4 separate regions of the Homo sapiens genome follow, and regions 1, 3 and 4 are each linked to region 2. The links are contacts of gene promoters, found by promoter capture Hi-C in blood cells and fetal thymus (Javierre and others, 2016). All regions are on one chromosome and are shown on one strand. Each heading gives the region's core, a stretch centred on a gene start or on the middle of the fragment in contact. The rest is flanking DNA. Distances are from core to core; before and after follow the strand shown. Region 1 holds the start of TMEM240 (transmembrane protein 240). Region 2 holds the start of CDK11A (cyclin dependent kinase 11A). Region 3 holds the start of ATAD3A (ATPase family AAA domain containing 3A). Region 4 overlaps SSU72 (SSU72 homolog, RNA polymerase II CTD phosphatase).

What was found. The method cuts DNA at HindIII sites, captures the fragments that hold promoters and counts their contacts. A CHiCAGO score of 5 or more calls a contact.
Region 1: the fragment with the promoter of TMEM240 here is called in contact with the fragment with the promoter of CDK11A in region 2 in 5 of 17 cell types (M2 macrophages, M1 macrophages, M0 macrophages and 2 more); the score reaches 7.4 in M2 macrophages.
Region 3: a contact is called between a fragment that was not itself captured here and the fragment with the promoter of CDK11A in region 2, in 4 of 17 cell types (M1 macrophages, activated CD4 T cells, M2 macrophages and 1 more). The highest score is 5.7, in M1 macrophages.
Region 4: a contact is called between a fragment that was not itself captured here and the fragment with the promoter of CDK11A in region 2, in 14 of 17 cell types (naive CD8 T cells, M1 macrophages, M2 macrophages and 11 more). The highest score is 9.8, in naive CD8 T cells.

Annotation. Positions count from the first base shown.
Region 1 is chr1:1,539,173-1,542,533 of GRCh38, forward strand. TMEM240 (transmembrane protein 240) reads right to left here and starts at 1,452. Exons shown (of 4, transcript NM_001114748.2): 1 at 1,118-1,452; 2 at 512-618. The coding sequence starts at 1,174. SSU72 (SSU72 homolog, RNA polymerase II CTD phosphatase) reads right to left here. Exons shown (of 5, transcript NM_014188.3): 5 at 2,501-2,995. The coding sequence ends at 2,894. RefSeq lists a silencer at 37-331. The HindIII fragment of the contact is 17,050 bases long and covers 1-3,361 here.
Region 2 is chr1:1,722,184-1,725,623 of GRCh38, forward strand. It overlaps CDK11A (cyclin dependent kinase 11A), which reads right to left and starts at 2,174. Exons shown (of 20, transcript NM_024011.4): 1 at 2,075-2,174; 2 at 525-648. The coding sequence starts at 635. RefSeq lists enhancers at 2,057-2,286, 2,267-3,106. The HindIII fragment of the contact is 24,282 bases long and covers 1-3,440 here.
Region 3 is chr1:1,509,873-1,512,942 of GRCh38, forward strand. ATAD3A (ATPase family AAA domain containing 3A) reads left to right here and starts at 2,290. Exons shown (of 16, transcript NM_001170535.3): 1 at 2,290-2,601. The coding sequence starts at 2,397. RefSeq lists silencers at 1,598-1,797, 2,248-2,407 and an enhancer at 2,038-2,097. The HindIII fragment of the contact is 8,392 bases long and covers 1-3,070 here.
Region 4 is chr1:1,556,209-1,559,490 of GRCh38, forward strand. The region is part of intron 2 of SSU72 (SSU72 homolog, RNA polymerase II CTD phosphatase); the gene reads right to left. Among named protein-coding and RNA genes, the nearest start is that of SSU72, 17 kb to the right of the region's middle. The HindIII fragment of the contact is 1,482 bases long and covers 1,235-2,716 here.

The sequences.
Region 1 (3,361 bases), core at 202-2,701, 180 kb before region 2:
CCCCTCAATCTGAATGACCTTGAGGAAGCTCCACCTCCCCGCTGCCCCCCCAGCCCATCCCTCAGCTCCTCTCCAGCCCGGGGGTGGTGCCCAGTGCCCCTCAAGGCAGGCCCTTCCCGCCTTGACCTGCATTCCCCTGCCCAGGGACTCAGTGCAGGGCCCAGCCCTGTGCCAGCAGGCGCTTCCTGCCCCAGCCCTGATGAGGCTGGCTTGGGTCTCCACTGTGGACATCACACTGGGCTGCGGCTTTCCGGCCTCCAGGCTGGACCAGGAGGCCCCGTGACCCATTCCGCCATCACCCTGGAGGCCTCTAGGAACGGCGTCCTAAAGCCATGCGCCCCCAGGAGACCCCCGCCCACCTTGAGACAGCTCCTCCCCCTGCGCACCTGGCAGCCCTCAAGGGTGGAAGGCGGCTCGCGGCCTGCGTGGGGCTGGTTCCCCCGCGCCCCGAGTGGGCCCCGCCACACATGTGCGCTCACGCGTGTCGAGCCGGCGCCGGTTGTGGACTCACCGGCCACAGTTGCAGTGGCAGACGCGGTCCTCGCCCCGCAGGTGCGGGAGGATGTAGTTGTGGAATCGGTCCAGCAGCGCGTTCATGTCCATCAAGCACGCGATGGCCTGGAAGAGCTCATGACCGGTCAGCGCCAAGGAGCGGGCGGGACGAAGCGGGGCTGGGGGTGGGGAGCGCAGGCCGGGGTCGGGGCAGCGCAAGCGGGGAGCGAGAGCGCAGGCCGGGGTGAGGGGAGCGTAGGCCTTGGTAGGGGGAGCGCAGCGGGTATGGGGATCGCAGGCTGGGGAGGGGAGCGCAGGCCGGGGTGGGGGGAGCGCAGGCCCGGGAGGGGACCGCGGGCCGGGGAGGGGGAAGCGCAGGCCGGGGTGGGGGGAGCGTAGGCCGGAGAGAGGAGCGTAGGGAGTGTGGGGATCGCAGGTTGGGGAGGGGAGCGGAGGCCGGGGTGGGGGAGCGCAGGCCGGGGAGGGGAGCGCAGGCCGGGGAGGGGAGCGCAGGCCGGGGAGGGGAGCGCAGGCCGCACGGGCGGTAAACAAGGCGCGGGAGGTGGGCCAGGCGGCGCGCGCGGGCGGGGAGCAGGGGGCGCGCGCGGGAAGCCCCTCCGCTCACCATCACGACCGACGCCCCCAGAATCATGAAGATCATGGTGTTCGCGCTCATGGACATCGGGCGGGGCCGGGCCGGGCCGGAGCGCCGCCCCCCGGCCCCGGCGCCCCCCCGGCCCCGGCCCGATGCTGAGCCCCCGCCGCCTCCGCAGAGGTCAGCGCTTCCCTGGATCGTCCGCCGCCGCTCGCTGCAACCCCGGCACCGGCCGGGGGGAGGAGGCGCGGGGGGGGGGGCGCCGGGGAGGGACGCGGGGCCTTTCTGGGGTCTCTCGGCCCGGCCCGCCGCGCTCCGCTCCGCCCTCGGGTCCTCCCTGCGATGCGCTCGGCTCGGCTCGACTCGGCTCCGCTCGGCTCCGGCCCCCTCCCTGCCTCCTCCTCCCTCCTCCCCCCTCCCTCCCCGCCGCCTTCCTCCGCCTCTCGGGAGGGACCGCGCAGACCGCAGGCCGCCCCGTGCCAGCGCCGGGAGGAGACCGCCATCCCCCGGACGCCGGCCGGGACCCCTCCCCGGGAGCCTCGGCTTCGCGTCCCGCCCCAGTCTGGTCAGACCCAGCCCCGGTGGCCTGTCCGGTGACCCTGGACGCCAGTCCTCCGGTCCTGGAGGGGCGCCGAGGCCCTTCCCGCCCCACTGCTCCGCCCTACGTCCTGGACTCCCAGGTCGCCGGGTGCGGGACTGCCCCAGTCCGCTCGGCACGCACGTGCCTCCAGGGTGGGGTCCGCAAGGTCGCGACAGCCCCACGGCCGTGGGGGCCACAGGTCAGGGACGGGATGACCCCTGGAATCCTCAACGGAGGGATGTGGCACAGGAGCCGAGGGCAGGGCCGCCCCGCACAGGCTTCCCTTAGGGCGGGGACGAGGGGGTCAGCCCAGGCCCATGGGTCGGGACGCCGGCCATTCAGAGGCCCAGTGGCCACCACTCCGCTGTGGCTGTCCCTGGCTCGGGGTCCTGAGGCCAAACTCTCATCCACGACCGGTGACCATGTCTCAGGCCCGGGAGCCGACCCCCGGCCTCAGCAGGAAGTCAGCGGGAAGCTATGCCTGGGACCCAGCCTGGGTCGTGGCGCCATCCAGGCTCACTGCAGCCTCCACTCCTGGGCTCAGGCGATCCTCCCGGCTCAGCCTCCCCCGTAGCTGGCCTTGGGGGATCCCCGCCCGGGGGGGTTCCACATGGAGAGGGGACGCCGCTCCACCACAGGCAGCAGTTGTGGCAGGAGCAGGCGGCTTCCGCTTCAGGCAGCACAGGCACGGGTAGGCCCAGACCCTGTCAGCACCACCAGGTCTGAGCTACTCCTCCCAAGCAGTGGTCGGAGGTCACTGAGGGCGGCAGGGCTAGGCCTCTGCCACCTCCTCAGGGGCGAGGGTCGGGCCAGGAATTCAGGACCAGGCACAATGACAGCAGCATCTGTTTATTGACAATTCCAGGTCATTCCTAACACGCCGCAGCAGGGCTCTGTACAGTCCGGCCCGGTGGGGAGGAGGGAGGGAAGGCAGGCACACGAAGACACAGGTATGTCGGGAAGTGCACACAAACCGTTGTCTTTCCTTTTTGGTTAAAGAAGAAAAACTTTGTAATCAATATCCTGCTCATAAGTAAAAGTGGAAAAGAAGAAACTTGATTGCTTTCATCTGGCGTTTTGGCATCTCCTCTCCCATTTCATATGCACAGTTTATTTGGGTAATGCTACCGTCACCAGCAGAACACCTGTAAGTAAAAACAAATGTCAGGAAGGAAAAAGTATGAACAACAGGAAGCTCCAGAGGCGGCTCCATGCGGGCGCTGGGCTCAGTAGAAGCAGACGGTGTGCAGAAAGGTGCGGCCACTCTTCTCCTCGAACTCCTGCAGCAGCTCGTCGATCTCGTTCTCCATGTCTTCCGTGTGCTGGATCTGCAAGGACAGGACCGTGGTGAGGGCCTTGCCCACTCCTGCCTGTCTGCTCCCCCTAACACCTGGATCGCCAGGGAAACGCCAGGCCTGAGCCAGCAGAAACCAGCGCAGCAGGCAGGCCCTCACCCCACCGCTGCTGCCTCACAAGGACGGCCGGAGGCTGCAGGGGGAGAGCGTCCCGGGCAGCCCCCACCTCCCCACCGACCCTCACAGGACCTGAAGCTGGGAGGAGCTGGGAGGAGCCTGGAGCTGGATTCTGAGAGGGGCCCAGCACGGAGACCTGGCGGCCAGGGCTCAGACCCACACATGCACAGCGGGGCCGACCAACCCTCACCGCCAGCGCTTCCACACCACCAACAAGCGAGC
Region 2 (3,440 bases), core at 924-3,423:
ATTTGGAAAAATTTCAATATCTGTGAAGCATAATAAAGTGAAGTGCAAGGTATGCCTGTACTCACTAACATCCCAAATGATGCTACAAATCTTAGCAAAAGAGGTACTTTGCCAATGCCTCTTACCAAATTACTAAAAAGGTTTCCTGAGTACATTACCATGCAAACCAAGAAAGACGTAAAATATTTATATTAATTTCAAGGCAAGTTCCCACTATATTAAAAATACTTAGAGATAGTATTATGAATATACTAATAATGAACCGAGAAAAATTAGTCCAGTTTTGCTAATGACTTAACATTCAACGTATTTTATTCTCCATGTATGCTCAATCTAGACACAGCTTTAGTGTGTTAAATCTGCCTTTAATGTCAACTGAATATTAGAATACATTTTGGGCTCACCTGCGACATTTGGAAGTACAAAAGAACTTCACCGAAGAAGCGTTGTTCTAATGGAAAAATGAGGGCAAAGAAATTAAATCTCCTTTAAGAAAACCACTTACTTAAAAAAATATGGCTTACATTTTTTAAGCGTTTTATCTCTGCTTTCTCCTCTTGTTCCTTCCTTCGTTTCTTTTCCTGAAGAATTTCATCTAAAGTTTTCACTTTCCAAGAGTCCTTTTCATCACCCATTTGAGTTAAAACACTGCAAAAAGAAAAATAATTCAGCCTACATCAGGACACAGCAAGCTATGGTGCTGAACACTTGAACCTAGTCACTTTTGAGGGATTCAGAATAAATCCTCATTAAGAATAAGAAGTTGTGCCCGGCGCAGTGGCTCAAGACGGTAACCCTAGCACTTTGGGAGGCCGAGGCGAGCAGATCGCTGGAGTTCCGGAGTTCAACACCAGCCCGGGCAACATGGCAAAACCTCGTCTCTACAAAAAATACAAAAGTTAGCCCAGTGTGGTGGCGCGTGCCTGTATTCCTAGCTACAGGAAGGAGGCTGCTAGAGGCAGGAGGATCACTTGAATCAGAGAGGTCAAGGCTGCAATGAGCCAAGACTGCGCCACTGCACTCCAGCCTAGATAACAAAGTAAGACTTGGTTAAAAAAAAAAAAAAAAAAAGGTAAGCTCTAGGCTGAGGCGGGTGGATCACAAGGTCGGGAGGTCAAGACCAGCCTGGCCAACACGGCGAAAACCCTGTCTCCACTAAAAATACAAAACTTAGCTGGGCGTGGTGGCGGGTGCCTGTAATCCCAGCTACTCGGGAGGCCGAGGCAGCAGAATCGCTTGAATCCGAAAGGCGGAGGTTCCGGTGAGCCGAGGTCGCGTCACTGCACTCCAGCAAGACCCCGTCTCAAAAAAAAAAAAAAAAAAAAAAAAAAAAAAAAAAACAAGAATGATAAGTTGTAAGCCAGGCAAGGTGGCGAGCGCCTGTAGTCCCATATACTCTGCAAGCTGAGATGGGAGACCGATTGAGCCCAGGAGTTCCAGGCTGAAGTGCGCTTGTGAACAGCCACTGCGCTGCAGCATGGGCGACAAAAAAGAGTGATGGGTTCTGAAAAATGACCGCTTGAAATCAAGTCTCGTTTCTGTCATTCTTGTATGGTCTTGGGTAACGTAATTCACCTCAGTTCAGTCTTCCGTACAACCAGAATAACAACACCTACGTGATAGTATCGATCGCGGATTAAAGATCATCCGTTTAAAGGCTCTTAACTCAGGACCTGCCACTCATCAAACACTGCTTTTACTGTCAGAATCTGCTAGAAAGACCGCTTGGACTACGTGAAGCCACTAGCACACTGGACAGCTGCACCTTGAGACCGGGGAGATGCTCCGAGATGTGCTCGCGAACAAGGCCACCTGACCCGGGCACTGGGCTATTTCCTCGGGTTCAGTCCCGCACACTTGAGGTTCAGCCTGGCAGACGTTGGCTCCAGACAGCGTTTGGACCCGCCGCCTCCACCACCCAAAGTTCCGTGCGGGATGAGACTGTCCGCGGAAGCGAGGGTGTCGCTCGCCCCCGGGCCCGGGTCCGCCCCGCTCCGAGGCCTGCTCGGAAGAAAGACCTCGGTGCGCAGTTCTCGTCGCGCTCCCACACCTGGTCCGCCCAGTCGGAACTCACCCCTACGGGGCCGCGGCCGGTCCCTGAGCCTGAGAAGAAACAGCAACCGGCGCTCGCCAGAAGTATCCTCACTTCCTGTGTTGACGCCTAATGATGATATAATAGCCGACCTCTGGCCCAGAACTCAAGACGACAGGGGCTCGCTCTGTGCGGCACTTCCTGTGTCTGCGCGGGATGATGACGCATAAAACAGCGCTTGCTCAGGTCCAGGACTCCAAAAGAAACTGCGCCGTGAGCTGCACTTCCGACTTCGGCGCGGGCCGGGGCGCCGAGCAGAGCGACGCCGACTTTTGGAGCAGTTTGCGCCTGCGCGGAACGCGTGGCCGGCTTCCGGAATCCTACCGGGACTTTTCCGGTAGCGAAGCCCGCGCCTGTGCCAAGGCTTGCGAGCAGAATGCCTTCGCGATGGACGCCCGCATTCCACCCCCTTGACCGCTGGGACCCCTAGTGGCGGGTGGGTGGAGCGCGCTCCATTTACCTGCTGGTTACCTCGTGAGGCGCCTCAGGTCTGTGTGTCTTGTAAAGGCCGATCTCGGAATTTAACTCTGAACCTTACTCAGAAACAAAGCAGGGAGAGCTCTTACGATGTGATTTTATTTTATTTATTCATGTATTTACTTTTGAGTCGGAGCCTTGCTCTGCCGCCCAGGTTGGAGTGCAGTGGCGTGGTCTTGGCTCACTGCAGCCTCCTCCCGGGTTCAAGGAATTTTCCTGCCTCAGCCTCCCGAGTAGCTGGAACCACAGGCCCGCGCCACCACGCCCGGCTAATTTTTATATTTTTGGTAGAGACGAGGTTTCGCCATATTGGCCAGGCTGGTCTCGAACTCCTGACCTCAAGTGATCCGCCTGCTTCGTCCTCCTAAAGTGCTGGGATTACAGGCGTGAGCCACCGCGCCGGGCCTTTTACAATGTGATTTTGAAGCTGACACTGGCAGTGGGTCCTCAAAGTGCAGACTCACTGGGTATGGTGCTTCCCCCAACTCCCAGGGCCCCACTCCAAACCCATGGATTCAGAGCATTGCAGGAGAAGAGGATAAAACGAGCAATTAATTCCCTTTCCATATGTCAGGTTTTCCTCTTGCCTTGAAAAGTCACAGAAAAATGCTTTAGACATCTGAATCTCAGGAAACAAACAATGGAAGATAAACATCCGCATTTACTGGGCCTGAAATGGGAAAATGAAAGATGTGGCAAGAAACTGACAAGGGCCCAAGAAGGGCGATGGGTATCGGAATTCTTTTCATCCCGGAATGAAATGCTGCTTGCTTTGTGTACCCAAGCTCTTTTTTTATTTTTATTTTTTTGAGACGGAGTCTCGCTCTGTTGCCCAGGCTGGAGTGCAGTGGCGCGATCTCGGGTCACTGGA
Region 3 (3,070 bases), core at 341-2,840, 210 kb before region 2:
TCCAGACCAGCCTGGCCAACATGGTGAAACCCCATCTCTCCTAAAAAAAAAAAAAAAAAAATTAGCCGGCCGTGGTGGCAAGTGCCTGAAATCCCAGGTACTCAGGAGGCTGAGGCAGGAGAATCACTTGAGCCTGGGAAGTGGAGGTTGCACTGAGCTGAGACCATGGAATTGCACTGCAGCATGGGCAACAAGAGTCAAACTCCCTCTAAAAAAAAAAAAAAAAAAAAAAAGGGCCAGGTGGCACATGCCGGTGGTCCCAGCTTCTTGGCTTGGAGGCTGAGGTAGGAGGATCGCCTGAGCATGGGAGGCAGAGGTTGCAGTGAGCTGAGATCGCACCATTGCACTCCAGCCTGGGTGACAGAGTGAGACCCTCTCAATAAATAAATAACCAAAACCTTGATTACAGCCATGGGGTGGGGGTGGGGGGACGTCTGGCTATTGCTGGGGAAGTCATTTGGTTTTTCTCCTCCTCTCCTATTTTTTTGGTACAGACGGGGTCTCTCTTTGTTGCCCAGGCTGGTCTCCAACTCCTGGGCTCAAGCAATCCTCCTGCCTCGGCCTCCCAAACTGGCGGGGTTACAGGCGTGAGCCACCGCGCCTGCCCTGTTTTCTTTTTCTTTTTTTTTTCTTTTCTTTTTTTTTTGGCGATGGAGTCGTGCTCGCCCAGGGTGGAGTGCAGTGGCCTGATCTCGGCTCACTTCAACCTCCACCTCCAGGGTTCAAGCAGTTTTCCCGCCTAAGCCTCCGGAGTAGCTGGGATTACAGGCGCACGCCACCATGCCCAGGTTAATTTTTGTATTTTTGACAGGGGTTTCACCATGTTGGCCCGGCTGGTCTCAAACTCCTGTTTTCAGGTGATCTGCCCACCTCGGCCTCCCAAAGTGCTGGGATTACGGGTGTGAGCCACCGCGCCTGGCCGGCATTTTCTGGCTTTTTTTTTTTTTTTTGACAGAGTCTGACTCAGTCGCCCAGACTGGAGTGCAGTGACGAGATCTCGGCAGCTCACTGTGTTATATGTAAATTTTCTGTGCCGCCAAAGAAGTAGAACTCGAATATAAATTTTTCTCAGCTAGATAATTTACTTCTATAGAAGGGGACATCTCATAGATGGAGCAATGGCGAGCGCTTGGACAAGGGAGGGGAAGGGGTTCTTATTCCTGACGCGGGTAGCCCCTACTGCTGTGTGGTTCCCCTATTGGCTAGGGTTAGAATGCACAGTCTAAACTAGTGCCCATTGGCTATTTTAAAGGGAGCAGGAGTATGGGCCAGAGTGGCGGGGTGAGTGGTTTGGCGGGAAAAATGGTTATGGGACAGGTAACTAAAGGTGACTCAGGTCAAAGCAGGAGACCGGGATTAGTTAGGACGGAGCAGGTGACCAGGGCAACAGATGTCAACTACTGACTAGAACTGGTGGAAAAGGTTGTTTACTGAAACTGCGAGGAAGGTAGACTTTAAAATGCAGGACAAAGACTGAACATACTGATATACTGATTCTTTGAAGGGAAGTTTAGAACTCATTGTATCTAACATTATTCAGGCTTAAAACAGTTTCCAATCCAGTGGGAAAAGTCACTCCATATATTCCGTGAAGTCAACCAGTTCCATCAAGGAGAAAGTCAGGGCCGCTGGGAGCGCGTGGACCGTGGGCTCCGGGGCGGCGCCTGCCCGGGCACCCCGGCCCCGTCCACGCCCCGCAAGAGGAGCTCGCTGGCCCCGCCACGCGGGAAGGGGTCGCCCCGGGGTCTTGGGCGGGAGGGCCGTGCGGGCTGCGGAGACACCGAGGAGGGGAGGCGCCTCTCCTGAGCTCTTGGCGCAGCGACCCCAGGGCGCCGACTCATCGCGGAAGGGCTCGGCTTGCCCGGGCGCCGGTGCCGCCTCGGGTGAGGTTCCCGCGAGACTCTTCTCTGCGTCCTGGACTCACCGCAGGGCGCCCCGCCGCACGGATCGAGAACCTTGGGGCTCCCTGGAAACTTGCCACCCGCTGCCGCCAAGGCCGGAACTCCTCGGAGCCCCTAGCAACGGAGCCCCTAGCAACGGAGCCCACGCGGATGCGGCGCGGGGCTGACGCTGCCTTGGGTTCGCCTACGTCCCTCGGGAATTTTGTCCCGGCGTGGCTCCCGTAGCCAGATGCTTCGCCGCTCCCGCCCCGCTGGCTCCCAAAGCCTGTTCGGCAGTCGCGGCGCCGTCGCTATGGCGTCACTGTCCTCGGGGCCAATCCAAGGGCTGCGCGCGTGTCCCTTACGCGCTTCTATCGCCGGGAGGAAGGGGTGTGTGTGGCGCCTGCGCAGTGGCGGTGACCACCGGCTCGCGGCGCGTGGAGGCTGCTCCCAGCCGCGCGCGAGTCAGACTCGGGTGGGGGTCCCGGCGGCGGTAGCGGCGGCGGCGGTGCGAGCATGTCGTGGCTCTTCGGCATTAACAAGGGCCCCAAGGGTGAAGGCGCGGGGCCGCCGCCGCCTTTGCCGCCCGCGCAGCCCGGGGCCGAGGGCGGCGGGGACCGCGGGTTGGGAGACCGGCCGGCGCCCAAGGACAAATGGAGCAACTTCGACCCCACCGGCCTGGAGCGCGCCGCCAAGGCGGCGCGCGAGCTGGAGCACTCGCGTGAGTGCGGCGGGGCGGGGCGGCGCGGGCGGGCGGGCGGGACGGGCCGGGGAAGCGGGAGCCCTGGCCCTTGCCGCTCCTCGCCGCTGTCGGCAGCCACTTCCCGGGCGAGACTGCGCCCCCGGAGCACCCCCGGCCGGAGCCGTGTCGCGTGCCGGGAGGATCGGACTCTTTCCGTCACCCGTTTGCACCTCTGCAGCTGTCAGGAGCGGGTCAGGTGCGGAAAGCGGTGCGGAGGTGGCGCTCATAGGTTACAGGGGTCAGGGTCTGGGGCTGGCCGTGGTCTTCAGTTACCGCCGAGCGTGCGGGATCCTTCTGCGCTTGCCGCCTCCACGTGGCACAGGCCAAGGCGTGGCCAGATGGGTAGATGGGTTTGTTGGGTGGTTGCTAGCAGTTTCCACGTAACAAGGGAAGCGTATTTGAGAGTTACTTGATTCTAACGAGACTAGCAGATTTGCACTTCTTGTTG
Region 4 (3,282 bases), core at 726-3,225, 170 kb before region 2:
GATCACAAGGTCAGGAGATGGAGACCATCCTGGCTAACACGGTGAAACTCCATCTCTATTAAAAATACAAAGAATTAGCCAGGCGTGGTGGCGGCGTGCCTGTAGTCCCAGCTACTTGGGAAGCTGAGGCAGGAGAATCACTTGAACAAGGTGAAACCCATGTCTACTAAAAATACAAAAAATTAGCCGGACGTGGTGGGGGGCGCCCGTAATCCCAGCTACTTGCGGGGGCTGAGGCAGGAGAATCGCTTGAACCCAGGAAGTGGAGCTTGCAGTGAGCCAAGACCACGCCATTGCACTCCAGCCTGGGCAAAAAGAGCAAAACTCTTGTCTCAAAAAAAAAAAAATTTCATTTTGATAGCGAATGCTTTTTTGGCAAAGCACAGAGGCTGCACAAACAGAACTCAGGAACCCCTCGAAAAGGTCTCATGGCCATCTCTGGAGCTGCTGGGCACCCAACTGTAACCGTGGCCTCAACACAGAGCCACACAAGGCTCAGGCCAGCTCTGGGGGGGTCCACCATGGCCTTGCGACTGCAGGCACCGTGAAACTACTTTGCAAAAGCATCTCACCTGCTGCAGACTAGGTGAAAACTCACAGGCTTGTGGGCCCTGACCCTGGGCTACCTCTTGAAGACGAAGGCACAGTCAGCACAGCTGCATTCTGTCCAGACCCTCAAATGACCACCAGCAACTACCTCAGCCAGTCAGCTCCGTTCTACCTCTGTCATCTCAGATGAGAAGAGCAGGCCAGTATCTCTGGCCTTACCTGAAATATCTTAAGGCCGTAATTTACATTTTAGGCATGAATGATTTTCTAAAACCCACGATCAGAGTTTCTCTGGGAATCGGCGTCTGGCTTAGGAACACATTCATTTGTTTGACAAATACCTTCCCAAAACTATTTTAAAACACAGCTGCTGGGCGGGACGCAGTGGCTCACACCTGTAATCCCAGGACTTTGGGTGGCCGAGGCGGGTGAATCACTTGAGGTCAGCAGTTCAAGACCAGCTTGGCCAACATAGTGAAATCCTGTCTCTACTAAAAATACAAAAATTAGCCGGGTGTGGCAGTGCATGCCTATAATCCCAGCTACTCAGGAGGCTGAGGCAGGAGAATCGTTTGAACCTGGGAGGCGGAGGTTGCAGTGAGCCGAGATTGCACCACTGCACTCCAGCCTGGGCGACAGAACAAGACTCTGTCTCAAAAAAGTAAATAAATAAATAAATAAATAAAGCTTCATATCAGCATTTCCTTTTTGGGAACTATACTATTCATCTGAATTAGCATATATATATATATGGGGCCGGACACAGCGGCTCACACCTGTAATCTCAAAACTTTGGAAGGCCAAAACAGGTGGTTCACCGGAGGTCAGGTGTTTTGAGACATGTCTGGCCAACGTGGTGAAACCCCATCTCTACTAAAAATACCAAAATTAGCCAGGCGTGGTGGTACGCCGCACCTGTAATCCCAGCTACTCAGGATGCTGAGGCAGGAGAATCGCTTGAACCCGGGAGGCAAAGATTGCAGTGAGCCGAGATCACGCCATTGCACTCCAGCAGGGGTGACAGACTGAGACTCCATCTCAAAAAAGAAGTCTACCACATTTTACTCTGAGACAAGGAAATGTCCACAGGGAAGTGGCCACACACAGAAGTTAACCTAAAAGACAATGAATTCAGAGGACGGACATGAACAAATGTGCAATTTAAAACACAGGCCAGGTGCAGTGGCAACCCCTATAATCCCAGAGCTTTGGGAGGCCAAGGCGGGCTCATCACATGAGGTCAGGACCAGCCTGGCCAACATGGTGAAACCCCATCTCTACTAAAAGTACAAAAATTAGCCAGGCGTGGTGGCACATGCCTGAAATCCCAGCTACTCGGGAGGCTGAGGCAGGAAAATCGCTTGAACCCAGGGTCGGAGGTTGCAGTGAGCCAAGATCGTGCCATTGCACTCCAGCCTGGGCAACAGAGTGAGACTCTGTCTCAATTAAAAAAAAAAAAAAAAGCTGGGCATGGCATAGGCCTCTGGTCCCAGCTACTGGGGAGGGTGACGTGGCAGGATCACCCACCTGAGTCTGGGATGCCCAGGCTGCAGTGAGCTGTGACAGCACCACTGCATTGCAGCCCACACGACAGAGAGACGCCCTGTCTCAAAACCAAATAATAATAATAATCCAAACCCCAAACGTCATTAGAAAAAATTAGGTAATTAGAAAAAAATCCACAAGAGAGGTACAAACAGTATATGCCAGACACAGGCTTGGTCTCCAGCTGCACGGCCAGACGAGACCCAGGAAAGTGTCAGATGCACTTGCGTTTCACAGGACAACAGTCACATTAACATTTAGAGCTACACGTTTACTTGCTTTTGAAGACAAGTGGTTTTGCAGTTCATAACACAAAAAGCTGGTAAACCTTCACTAACTTACATGTACACAGGATGAACTTTCTGTAGGATCCTGTGAGACTCCCACACACCTTCTCATGTGGCTGAATGGGCTTCCCTGGAGCGGGGGAACTGTCCAGGCCGGTGTCTGCCACCCCAGCCCTCCTTTCACAACGGCCTCTCCCTCCTCCTCTACCCTCTGGGCCAGCGGCTGTTGCCTGGACCCCCTCACTGGGCTGAGTGACACTTCACTAGGTCAGACTGGCCATTCACTAACTTAGAAACAGAAGTCACTTGTCTTCTCCCCAAAGGCACTCCAAGCAAGCTTGGGATGGCTTAACCAGACTCCTTTCAATCAAAAATGAAAAAATCCTGCAAGAAAGCTCAACTATGGAAAGTGGCTTCAGTGTAAAATGAAAAAAAATAGAGAAGCCTCTGCACGTGACCCTGGGAGCCAGGCTCAAGCCCCTCGGCAGGACACCCAGCGCAAAGCTGCTCTACTCCACGTGCCACTGAGGCTGAGCGAGGAAAAGTCATGGCAAAGAAACCTGGGACTTAGAAATAGTTCCACGCATGCTCAGCGAAAGAACAAAAGGCTGCATATGAACTGGACAGTGTGGAATGAGCAGACCTGTAGCACGGGAAGCAGCTAAACTGGACGGTGTGGAACGGGCGGACCTGTAGCACGGGAAGCTGCTACAGGCACTGGGAGGAGAATGGGCAGCAGCAAACGGCCTTGGGAGACGAAAAGCGTCTCAAAACCAATTGTGGTGACGGCTGCAACTCCATGAATGTCCTGAAACCCACAGAACTGGACACGCGACTCAGGGAAGTGCATGATTTGTACATTTTATCTCAATAAAAACAATTCTTGATAAAACGGTCAGTC